4 separate regions of the Homo sapiens genome follow, and all the other regions are linked to region 1. Evidence: promoter capture Hi-C in 16 types of primary human blood cells and fetal thymus (Javierre and others, 2016). All regions are on one chromosome and are shown on one strand. Each heading gives the region's core, a stretch centred on a gene start or on the middle of the fragment in contact. The rest is flanking DNA. Distances are from core to core; before and after follow the strand shown. Region 1 holds the start of RLF (RLF zinc finger). Region 2 overlaps SMAP2 (small ArfGAP2). Region 3 has its middle 21 kb from the start of COL9A2. Region 4 has its middle 22 kb from the start of SMAP2.

Region 1 (2,700 bases), core at 177-2,676:
ACAGGGCAATGTTGCAGGTTGTACACACAAAAATTGGAGTGGTACAATCCACGGAAAAGATTAGTAAGGACAAAATTCCATTCAGAGAGATGAGGTGCTTCTGCCTCGGCAGAGAGAGGGAAGAAAAGCAATCAAGCAAGCTAACTTTTATTCTACTCCGGACCAACAGAGCAAATTGCCCCCCAAAATTATTATTTTAGAACGCCGCAATTTATTCAGCATACTGGACTACTTATTAGACTCCAAGTACCAACATGCCACGATTATTTTGCATTTTCTAAGGTACAACAGATAAGGAGCTGATGGGTGCCTCTGAAACCTGACAGAACAAACATTGGAAGCAGAAATAATAATGGCCAATATTTGTATTTGTAAAAGACTTGAAAACATACAGAAAAATCTCGGAGTGGTCATGGAGACTAAACTAAACACACCCATAAATATGTAATCATAGGTTAGGACCCACCAAGGCACAGAAATGATCATACGACTGCCAAAAGAGGCCACACTCTACATCCCTCTTCCCATCCTCTTCTACTCAAAGAGTCAGCCTTATTCTCGGTAGCACAATCCTCTCAAAGAAATACAGAAAAGACGAAAGAACGGCTTAAACGTAAAAAAAAAAAAAGCAAAAACCAAACAACCAACCGGCTCCGCAATCCCTAATCAGAAAGCTCTAGACGCCTTTCGAAGCCAACTGTCATACCTTTTAGGAGCCCAGAAGATGTTAACTCCAAAAATAAGTCTCTGGCCCCAACACACCTCTCTGGATTATTCAGAAAAACCCGGGTTTACCAGTTCGGAGATCTGCACTCCACTCAAAAAAGGATCTCCCGGCAGGGACAAGCAATCAATCCCTCAGGGGGCAGTGGCGCTCCAACCACCCGGCCAGGACACAGGCAACGGCGACAGGGCACAGCCCTTCCAGGGACCCGCCAGGGCCCTCCGGGATCTCAGTAAGGCTCAGAGCAAAACGACCCAGCGGTGGCCAAAGTCGGGCAGTGGCGCAGGGGGGCCAGCGGTCGAGCTTCCGAGCTGGGCCTTCCCGGCCCGGGGGCGCGGCGAGTCACGGAGGTGGCGCCTTTCAGTTTGGACCCGGCTGCTTACAGAGGATCCAGGGCCTCCTTCCCTGACTTCCCCGCCCCGCCGCCCTCAGCCAGCCAGTCAGCCCCTCACCTGGCAGAAGCTCCGGCAGTAGTTCAAAGATGAGACCTCCGACACCTCTTGCTCCCTCAGCTCTGTCTCCAGCTGCCACAGACACGGCCGCAGTCCCGAGGCTCCCGGCGCTGGAGATACGGGGCGATGACCCCGAACCATGGACTCAGTCTCGACTCCATCTCCGGCTCCCGCTACCGCCGGAGCCTCAGCCCCAGCCCCGGCGACAGCGGCGGCGTCTCCCTTTCCGTCCGCCATCTTCCCACGGCCCACCAGCGCGTAGGCAACCAAGCCACGTGACTCAGCCCTGGCCCTGCCCCCGGCCGCCCGCGCACTGTGACGCACTCCTTAGCGACGCGGGCGCCCGCCTGATTCCGTCACTCGGACTCCGGGTGCTCTCAGTGGCCTACGCATCGCCAGTCCTGACAACAGCCTAGCAACAACTGGCTAGAGGCTATGCCCACCTAGACCCCTTTGAGGTCATGGGATCACGGAGCCAGAAATGCCTGTAGAGCAATCTAGATTTGAGGGGGATGACATTTGAACTGCGATCTGAAGGGACAAGAGGAAGGTAGCCCTGAAAGGAACATAGCGAAAAGCATCCCTGGTAGAAGGAAAATAAGCAAAGATTGTGAGGCCGAAATGAAGAGTAACATCAAGGGAACTTGGTTTATGATACAGACGGCATTACAAGTCAGTGGGCGAAAGGACAGACTCTTCAATAAATGGCGATGAGACATTTTTTCCAAAAGGGAAATAAATGATTAGATTTCTACCTCAAACCATTTCCAAAAATAAGGCCGAGATGGATTAAAGACCTGCAAACATTTTTCAGAAAATAAAAATAGCTTTATAATGTCAAAAATAGGGAAGAATTTTTTTTTTTTTTTTTAGACGGAGTCTCACCCTTGTTGCCCAGGCTGGAGTGCAACAGTGCTATCTCAGCTCACCGCAACCTCCGCCTCCTTGGTTCAAACATTCTCCTGCCTCAGCTTCCGGAGCAGCTGGGATTACATGCATGCGCCACCATACCTGGCTAATTTTGTATTTTTAGTAGAGATGGGGTTTCTCCATGTTGGTCAGGCTGGTCTCGAACTCCTGACCTCAGGTGATCCGCCCGCCTCAGCCTCCCAAAGTGCTGGGATTAGAGGCGTGAGCCACCGCGCCCGGCTAAGAATTTCTTAATAAGACCGGAAAAGCACAAACCATAAGGGAAAATATTTAGATTTGACTGTATTAAAATGTGTTACTTCCGTATAACAAGTTGAAAAAGCACACAAAGACAAGCCACAGACTAAATGATATTCCCCATATATATAACCATTGTTTATTGTTGTTGTTTTTTGAGACAGGGTCTCACTCTGTCACCCAGCCTGGAGTGCAGTGGCACGATCTAGGCTCACTGCAACCTCTGCCTCTCAGGTTTAAGTGATTCTCGTGCTTCAGCCTCCCAAAGTAGCTGGCACTATAAGCGTCCGCCACCATGCCTGGCTAATGTTTGTATTTTTAGTAGAGGCGGGGTTTCACTGTGTTGGCCAGGCTGAT
Region 2 (2,700 bases), core at 169-2,668, 220 kb before region 1:
TGAGCCCAGGAGTCTGAGGCTACAGTGAGCTATAATCGCACCACTGCACTCCAGCCTGGGTGGCAGAGCAAGACCCCGTCTCTAAAAAAAATAAAAAGGAAAGAAAATATTCAGTAAAAAATGAATGGTTGCATCTGTACAGAACATGTGCAGACTTTTTTCCTTCTCATTATTCCCTAAATTATACAGAGTAACAACTACTGGCATAGCATTAACATTGTATTAGATATTATAAGTAATCTAGAGATGATTTAAAGTATAAGGGAGGATGTGTATAAGTTATATGCAAGCACTACAACATTTATATCAGGGACTTGAGCATCTGTGGATTTTAGTACCCCAGAAGGTTCCTGGAACCAATCCCCCCTGGATACCAAAGGACAACTGTAGATCCTTTCATGGTAAATAAGATAGTGTCCAGTTTAAAACACAGTCTCTGACGGGGTGGCTTAGCAATTATTCCTGACACACTGATAAAATCTGGAACTGCTGAGCTAGAAGTTAAAACTTGGACCAGTATGACCCCAAGTACAAAGGAAGTATGACCCATACCCAAAAATGGAACCCAGCCTCAATCAGCCAGAGTTACCATTGACATATCTGGAATTTTCAGTAGTTTTGTCCTCTGTTCTATCACTACCTAAGTTAGTCCAAAAGTTCACCCTAAAAGTCACATTAACCCCAGGGCTTTGGGTAATGAAGAAATCACATCTTGAGCCTAGAGAGAATCATAGCATTTCTTAAATAGGCAGCCCCAAAGCAGTTTCCTTTCCCACACTGAAATTACTGGAATGGTTTAGTGGTCCCAGAAACTGGTAAGACTCGTGCCCAGGACAGTTAAAAACCCCAGGATCAACAAAACTTGTACGAAGTAAAAAGAACACAAGCTTGTTCTCTATTCTGATGTTTATTTGTTGTGTTTTGTTTTAGAGACAGGGTCTTGCTCTCTGACCCAGGCTGCAGCGCAGTGGCACTCAATCATGGCCCACTGCAGCTTCGACCTCCTGGGCTCAGTTGCCCAGGTGATCCTCCTGCCTCAGCCTCCTGAGTAGCTGGGACCACAGATGCACAACACCACACCCAGCTAATTTTTTAACTATTTGTAGAGACAAGGTCACACTATGTTGCCCAGGCTGGTCTTGAACTCCTGGACTCAAGTGATCCTCCCTCCTTGGCCTCTCAAAGTGCTGGGATTACAGGTTTGAGCCACCACACCCAGCCTCTATTCCGAAGTTTAAATCACATACCTTGAAAGTCAACTAATAAATGTTCCTAAATAAGTATAAGAATTTAAAAATAAAAGTCATTGCCAAAGAGTTATATTTTGGAACATTGCAAAAATACCTGCTCATAGGTCGATAGTCTATGCCACATCATCTAACTGGATATTAATAGATGAGCAATCACTCACCATATCCTGTACAGTTAACTTCCAATTTTTTAGGAAAGGACACAGGAATACAGGTAAATAAACTGAAACCCAATTCTCATTTTAGCCAACACTTTTTAAATTCCTCCTCCAATGAAATGTATTTTTTATCAGCGCTAACAGGTAACAATTTATTGATCCAAACGTCTTTTCCTTCAACAATCTGATAGTTGTCCAAATGATCATTATGACAACCAAAATTAGAAAACAGCAGGGGAAAAAGAGTGAGAGGGCTTGGAGGGGTGGAATGGGATAGGTAATTCATAAATTGGATAAACAGAGGCCTCAACAAATGCCTATTTGTCATAATCTAAAGATGACTGACCCATTGTCATCTCATTTTTAATACAATGACCAAGTCCCTGAAGCCACCTGGTAAAATGTAAAACGAACTTCTGAAAAGAAATTGAGGATCCAGGATTCTACCATCAACAGTAGTTAATAAAGTTTACAAGCCAGCAGTTACTAGTTCTCATTAAGAATTAACTGATATTTCATAACCTGATCCCCAGTAAGCTTATTAATAAAAAGCAACGGAAATTTCGGGCTGGGCATGGTGGCTCACACCTGTAATCCCAGCACTTTGGAAGGCTGAGGCGGGTGGATCACCTGAGGTCAGGAGTTCAAGACCAGCCTGGCCAACATGGTGAAACCCTGTCTCTACTAAAAATACAAAAATCAGCTGGGCATGGTGGCGGGCGCCTGTAATCCCAGGTACTCGGGAGGCTGAGGCAGGAGAATCACTTGAACCCGGGAGGCAGAGGTTGCAGTGAGCCGAGATTGCACCATTGCACTCCAGCCTGGGCGACAAAGCGAAACTGTCTCAAAAAATAAAAATAAAAAATAAAATAAATAAAAAGCAATGGAAATTTGGAGGAAGAAGTAGTGAATCAGCCTCTCTCTTCCATGTGCTGTATTTTATTGGAATATGAGTAAGTATAAGGGTAATATGAGAAATGGGGGGGGGGGTTCTAGTCACCAAAATGGCATCTGACTCTCCAAATGCAGCAATGCTCACTCCAGTGGGTTGCTTCACTGTGACTCAAGATCTGTCAAATGAGGACATAAGGGAATTTGAATAAAGCCAAGATACACTCCTAAAATAAACCAAATCTTCCAATAGACCTAACAGAAGATGTAACAAGAATCAAGAAGCTAACCTACTCAACATAAATTGATTCTAAAATACTTTTTAAAATGAATTATTGCTAATGCAAAAATTCAGGAAAGAAGTCTAGGAATTTGTTTTCCTAATGGCACATTCCATTTAT
Region 3 (2,700 bases), core at 20-2,519, 140 kb before region 1:
GCTTTTAGCTCACCACACTGTTCTCAGATTCCTGCGCTGATTTCTCATGTCTCCAGTATCTGAAAGTCACTTGTTCCTTGGACCACATCTTTTTCTCTGGCTCCTCTCATATCTCATTCAGTTTCATGGCTTTAAACTTTATCTATATATCCCCAGTCCAGATCTCGCTGCTTAACTTGATCCGTCGATCCAACTGCCTACTCAACATCTCCCCTTCGATGTCTGATGGGCATCTCAAATTTAACATGTCCGAAACAATTCCTGATCTTCCCCTCCAGAATCCCCCCTCCTGCGATCTTTCCCATCTCACCCAAGGGCAACTCCATCCTTTCAGTTATTTAAGCCAAATACACTGGAGTCATCCTCCACTCCCACTTTATCTCTTAGACCCCACATCTGATCCATCAGCACATCCTGTTGGCTCAGTCTTAAAAATATATCCAGAATCCAGCCACTTACCACCTCCTGACTACCACTCCAGTCTAGCACCATTATTTCTTGCAAGAAGGATTGCAAGCCTCTCCCAACTAGTCCCCTGCTTCAACCTTTGCTCCTCAACATAGAAGCCAGAGTGGTCCTATTAAAACTTCAGATCATGTCACTCCTTAGCCTAAAACTCTACAATGGCTTCCTACCACACTCAAGGAAAAGCCTGAATTCTTACAGTGGCCTACAAGGCCCTGCAAAATCTAGCGTCTGGGATGCTCTTCCCTCAGACACCTCCCTAGAACACCTCACTCTTCATTTCCTTCAGGTCTTGGTTCAAATGTGACCTTCAGTGATGCCTTTTTGTGACCACCCTATTTAAAATTGCTGGCCAGGCACGGCTCATGCCTGTAATCCCAGAACTTTGGGAGGCCAAGGCGGGTGGATCACTTGAGGTCAGGAGTTCGAGACCAGTCTGGCCAACATGATGAAACCCCATCTCTACTAAAAACACAAAAACTAGCCAGGTGTGGTGGTGGATGCCTGTAATCCCAGCTACTTGGGAGGCTGAGGCAGGAGAATCGCTTGAACCCGGGAGGCAGAGGTTGCAGTAAGCCAAGATCGTGCCACTGCACTCCAGCCTGGGCGACAGAGTGCAACTCTATCTCAAAAAAATAAAAGATAATAAAATAAAATTGCAGCTCCTACCCCCACCCAAACACCTCAGCCCCCGCCTTTTTTTCCAAAACATGTATCACCATATAAATACATTTTAGTTGTCTTTCTCCCTGATACTAGAATGTAAACTCCAAGACGTGGCGGATTTTTGTACCTTTTGTTTACCATGTATTCCCCATCACCTAGAGCAGCGCTTGGTAGAGTGGGGACAGATGGAGAAATACAGTCTCGGTCAAGTTTCTTACCCAAAGTCTTACTAGTAAGTGGCATGTTGGATTATAGAGCCCCAGGCTTAATCCTAATACTTTACCTGTTATTGACCATCATCCAGAGAGCCAGAGGGGAGCTCGGACTCAGCCAAGGGCAGAGTAAGGCAAATCTGCTTCCTGAGTATTGGCGGTCCCGGCTTCACAGGTTTTTAGAACACACAGAGGTATCTTCCTAGCTGTTTCTGGTCAAACTGTTTAGGAAATCCTCCTCCCTGGAAATCATCCTGGATAACAGAGAAGAGCCCAAGATTTCCTTATCCATATTGTCTAAATGGGACTATCCCATTCCACAATGGATTATATTTGCCTTCCCACAAAACTGAACTCAGCCTGGCACACATCGTTCAAGTTACTTGCTCACATCACTGTGGTCTTAAAATGTTTCTGGATAAAAGTTTTGGATTACAAATTATCTGTAATTTTCTTTGTTTTGCCCTTAGGATAGAACGTAAGGCCCTTAAGTGGTAGTTAGCTTTCTGCTAATGATGGCAGAATACTCAAAACCATCAAAGATATAGAAAGTATATAAGAACATGGCCAGGAGTGGTGACTCACACCTGTAATCTCAGCATTTTGGGAGGCCAGGGCAGGCAGATCACAAGGTCAGGAGCTTGAGGCCAGCCTGGCTAACATGGAGTAACCCCATCTCTACTAAAAAATACAAAAATTTGCTGGGCACGGTGGCTCACCCCATAATCCCAGCACTTTGGGAGGGCAAGGTGGGCGGATCCCCTGAGGTCAGGAGTTTGAGACCAGCCTGGCCAACATGGAGAAACCCCGTCTCTATTAAAAATACAAAAATTAGCCAGGTGTATTGGCCCATGCCTGTAATCTCAGTTACTCGGGAGGCTGAAGCAGGAGAATCACTTGAACCTGGGAGGCAGAGGTGGCAGTGAGCCAAGATCATGCCACTACACTCAATCCTGGGTGACAGAGAGACAGAGAGTCTTAAAAAAAAAGAAAGAAAAGAAAAAAATACAAAAATTAGCCGGATGTGGTGGCTCACATGCCTGTAATCCCAGCTACTCAAGAGGCTGAAGCAGGAGAATCTCTTGAACCTGGGTGGTGGAGGTTGCAGTGAGCCGAGATCGCACCATTGCAGTCCAGCCTGGGCAACATGGTGAAACCCCATCTCTACTAAAAATACAAAAAATTAGCCAGGCGTGGTGGCGCAAGCCTGTAATCCTAGCTACTTGGGAGGCTGAGGCAGGAGAATCGCTTGAACCCAGGAGGCGGAGGTTGCGGTGAGCTGAGATCGGGGCATTGCACTCCAGCCTGGACAACAAGAGAGAAACTTCTTCTCAAAAAAAACAAAAACAAAAAAAGC
Region 4 (2,700 bases), core at 173-2,672, 190 kb before region 1:
AGTCCCAGCTACTCAGGAGGCTGAGGCAGGAGAATCACTTGAACCCGGGAGGCGGAGGTTGCTGTGAGCTGAGATCATGCCATTGCACTCCAGCCTGGGCAACAAGAGCAAAACTCTGTCTCAAAAAAATAAAGAAGCCCTCTGGGTGACTATTCTGGTGCACATTCAAGTATGAGAACTGCTGCTCATGTAAATCACCTCATGGTCACAAGATGGTCACCACAGCTCTAAACATTGCATCATCTTCCAATGAAGGAAGAAGAGAAAAGGAATGTCCCCAATCTTAGCTGTTTCTTTTATCAGGAAAACAAAAGTTTTCCGAGAAGCTCACAGCAGTCTTTCCCTTAAGACTCCTTGGCCAAAACTAGGTTGCATGGCTCAGCCTCTAACTGCAAAGGACACCAGGAAAGCCCTTATGGCAGGAGGCAGCAAGAGAGATGGGTGCTGGACATGGCTGTGGGCAACCCCGGACAATGTCTGCCATAGAGTCCATGGTGGTCAGGACCATGGAAAACGTCATGCCTGACTCCATCTGCAAACGTAGTCTTAGAACTTTCAGATTCTTCAGATGGGAGTACCCAGACATAAAAATTTCATTGTTGTTAATATCTATCAATTGTGGTCGAGATCATTACACATCATGCTAAAATAATCCTTTCCCATCAAAAATGAGGAGGAGGCGCCGCGTGTGGTGGCTCACACCTGTAATCTTAGAGCTTTAGGAGGCCAAGGAGGGAGGATCGCTTGAGGCCAGGAGTTTGAGACCAGCCTGGGCAACATAGCGAGGCATTGTCTCTACAAACTTTTTAAAAAATTAGCAGAGAATGGTGGCTTGCTGCTGTAGTCCTAGCTAAGGTGGGAGGATTGCTTGAGCCTGGGAGTTCAAGGTTGCAGTGAGCTATGATCATGCCACTGCACTCCAGCTTGGATGACAGAGCAAGATCCTGTCTTTAAAAGTAAAAAAAAATAGAAAAACTTTTTAAATTAAAATATTTTAAAATGAGCAAGGGAAACAACAAAGAAGGAAGAAGAGAAAGAAGTGACGAACTCTGCCTTGACAGAGTGGAGTTCTTTTCCGAGCAATCAAGGAGGAGAACATTATAGGCAGAGAGATTAAAATGCATGAAAATGCAGAACTGAAAAAGAACTCTGAGCTGCTAGAGAGGTTACATGTGGCAAGCATTAGGAGAAGCTGGACAGAGGGTGAGGGCCAGATCACGAAAGGCCTTGTATGCTGTGCTGAGAAGGTTGAACTCCACCCTGTTCCTAATATCATTAAAGCTTGGAGGGCATCTTATCCTGGGTCCACAGATGGACTTTGGCACCTTATCAACACTATTTATTTTAAACATTATTTATAATATCAACCCCCTGAAATTGTATGAAAAATTTCATGGAGCTGCTCTGCCTATGGAGTAACTATTCTTTTGTTTCTTTACTTTCTTAATAAACTTGCTTTCACTTTACAAAAAGAAAAAAAAATTCATGGATGTGCGGGTGTGTGCAGTCTTGGGGAGAGAGGGCCTCAGATTTGCAGGGATGTGCATAACCCAAAGAAGCTTAAGAATCTGGCTGGGTACGGTGGCTCACACCTGTAATTCCAGCACTTTGGGAGGCCGAGGTGGGTAGATCACTTGAGGCCAAGAGTTCGAGACCAGCCTGGCCAACATGGTAAAGCCATGTCTCTATTAAAAAAAATTAAAATAGGCTGAGCGCGGTGGCTCACCCCTGTACTCCCAGCAATTTGAGAGGCCAAGGTGGGTGGATCACCTGAGGTTAGGAGTTCGAGACGAGCCTGACCAAATGGTAAAACCCCATCTCTACTAAAAATACAAAATTAGCCGGGCTTGGTGGTGCACGCCTGTAATCCCAGCTACTCCGGAGGCTGAGGCGTGAGAATCGCTTGACCCAGGAGGCAGAGGTTGCAGTGAGCCAAGATCGTGCCATCGCACTCCAGCCTGGACAACAAGAGTGAAACTCTGTATCAAAAAATAAATAAATAAATAAAAATGAAAGAATCATTTCTTTAAGGAGTCAAGGAGTTAATCATTGTATTCTGTATTCATCACCAGAATAAATTTATACTCTGAACAGACTCTAGATCCAGGTTAACTAGAAAAGACAGAGTTCAGACCAGAGCTGAGATTCTATCTTCTTGTCCACAGCGTTTCTTGTGCAATCTGTGCAATGGACAATCTCCAACAAGTGCCAAGACAGATGAGTATCTCCTTTTCCCCTCCTTGTCAGGCCACAGAGTCCCTCCTCTCTCCAATAACCTCTCAGCCCTGCTCTCTGTCACCACTCCCAAATGACGAGAAAGGAGGGAGTAGGACATCTGTGAAGAGAGACCCACCAGCTCCCCATCAAAGCTGGGGTGCTCCAGAAGGCACCAGAAAATGGAACAAGAGAGGATTCTTTTCCAAGGAGAGTAGGACAAGCACAAGGGAACTTCTTGTCTACGACAGGTCCTTGTGATTCTGGGTAAGGAGGGAGATTGTTTGGATCTGCTCCTGACTTTGAGTCTTCAGAGTCTCCACTCTGGAGGCTTACAATTATTATTTGTAATGAGTTAATGAGCAGAATGGGGCAGAATAGTATCACAGGTTTCTTAATCCAAAGATAAATGATTTTGTAAAAATCCCAGTGAACAACATAATTTTAAAATGCTTATTTTAGAAAAAGATATAGAAATTTCTTCAC

What was found. The method cuts DNA at HindIII sites, captures the fragments that hold promoters and counts their contacts. A CHiCAGO score of 5 or more calls a contact.
Region 2: a contact is called between a fragment that was not itself captured here and the fragment with the promoter of RLF in region 1, in 11 of 17 cell types (fetal thymus, naive CD4 T cells, total CD8 T cells and 8 more). The highest score is 11.4, in fetal thymus.
Region 3: a fragment that was not itself captured here is called in contact with the fragment with the promoter of RLF in region 1 in 7 of 17 cell types (naive B cells, total B cells, endothelial precursors and 4 more); the score reaches 7.4 in naive B cells.
Region 4: a fragment that was not itself captured here is called in contact with the fragment with the promoter of RLF in region 1 in 8 of 17 cell types (naive B cells, total B cells, fetal thymus and 5 more); the score reaches 7.5 in naive B cells.

What each region holds. Positions count from the first base shown.
Region 1 is chr1:40,160,113-40,162,812 of GRCh38, reverse strand. It overlaps RLF (RLF zinc finger), which reads right to left and starts at 1,426. Exons shown (of 8, transcript NM_012421.4): 1 at 1,177-1,426. The coding sequence starts at 1,413. It overlaps LOC105378671 (a long non-coding RNA gene), which reads left to right and starts at 1,535. Exons shown (of 3, transcript XR_947232.3): 1 at 1,535-1,848. RefSeq lists enhancers at 522-1,137, 1,141-1,650, 1,138-1,754. The HindIII fragment of the contact is 5,693 bases long and covers 1-2,700 here.
Region 2 is chr1:40,375,525-40,378,224 of GRCh38, reverse strand. The region is part of intron 1 of SMAP2 (small ArfGAP2); the gene reads right to left. Among named protein-coding and RNA genes, the nearest start is that of SMAP2, 3.1 kb to the right of the region's middle. The HindIII fragment of the contact is 1,058 bases long and covers 890-1,947 here.
Region 3 is chr1:40,295,017-40,297,716 of GRCh38, reverse strand. No RefSeq gene overlaps it. Among named protein-coding and RNA genes, the nearest start is that of COL9A2, 21 kb to the left of the region's middle. The HindIII fragment of the contact is 4,052 bases long and covers 1-2,700 here.
Region 4 is chr1:40,350,808-40,353,507 of GRCh38, reverse strand. It overlaps a transcript of SMAP2 not described here. Among named protein-coding and RNA genes, the nearest start is that of SMAP2, 22 kb to the left of the region's middle. The HindIII fragment of the contact is 278 bases long and covers 1,284-1,561 here.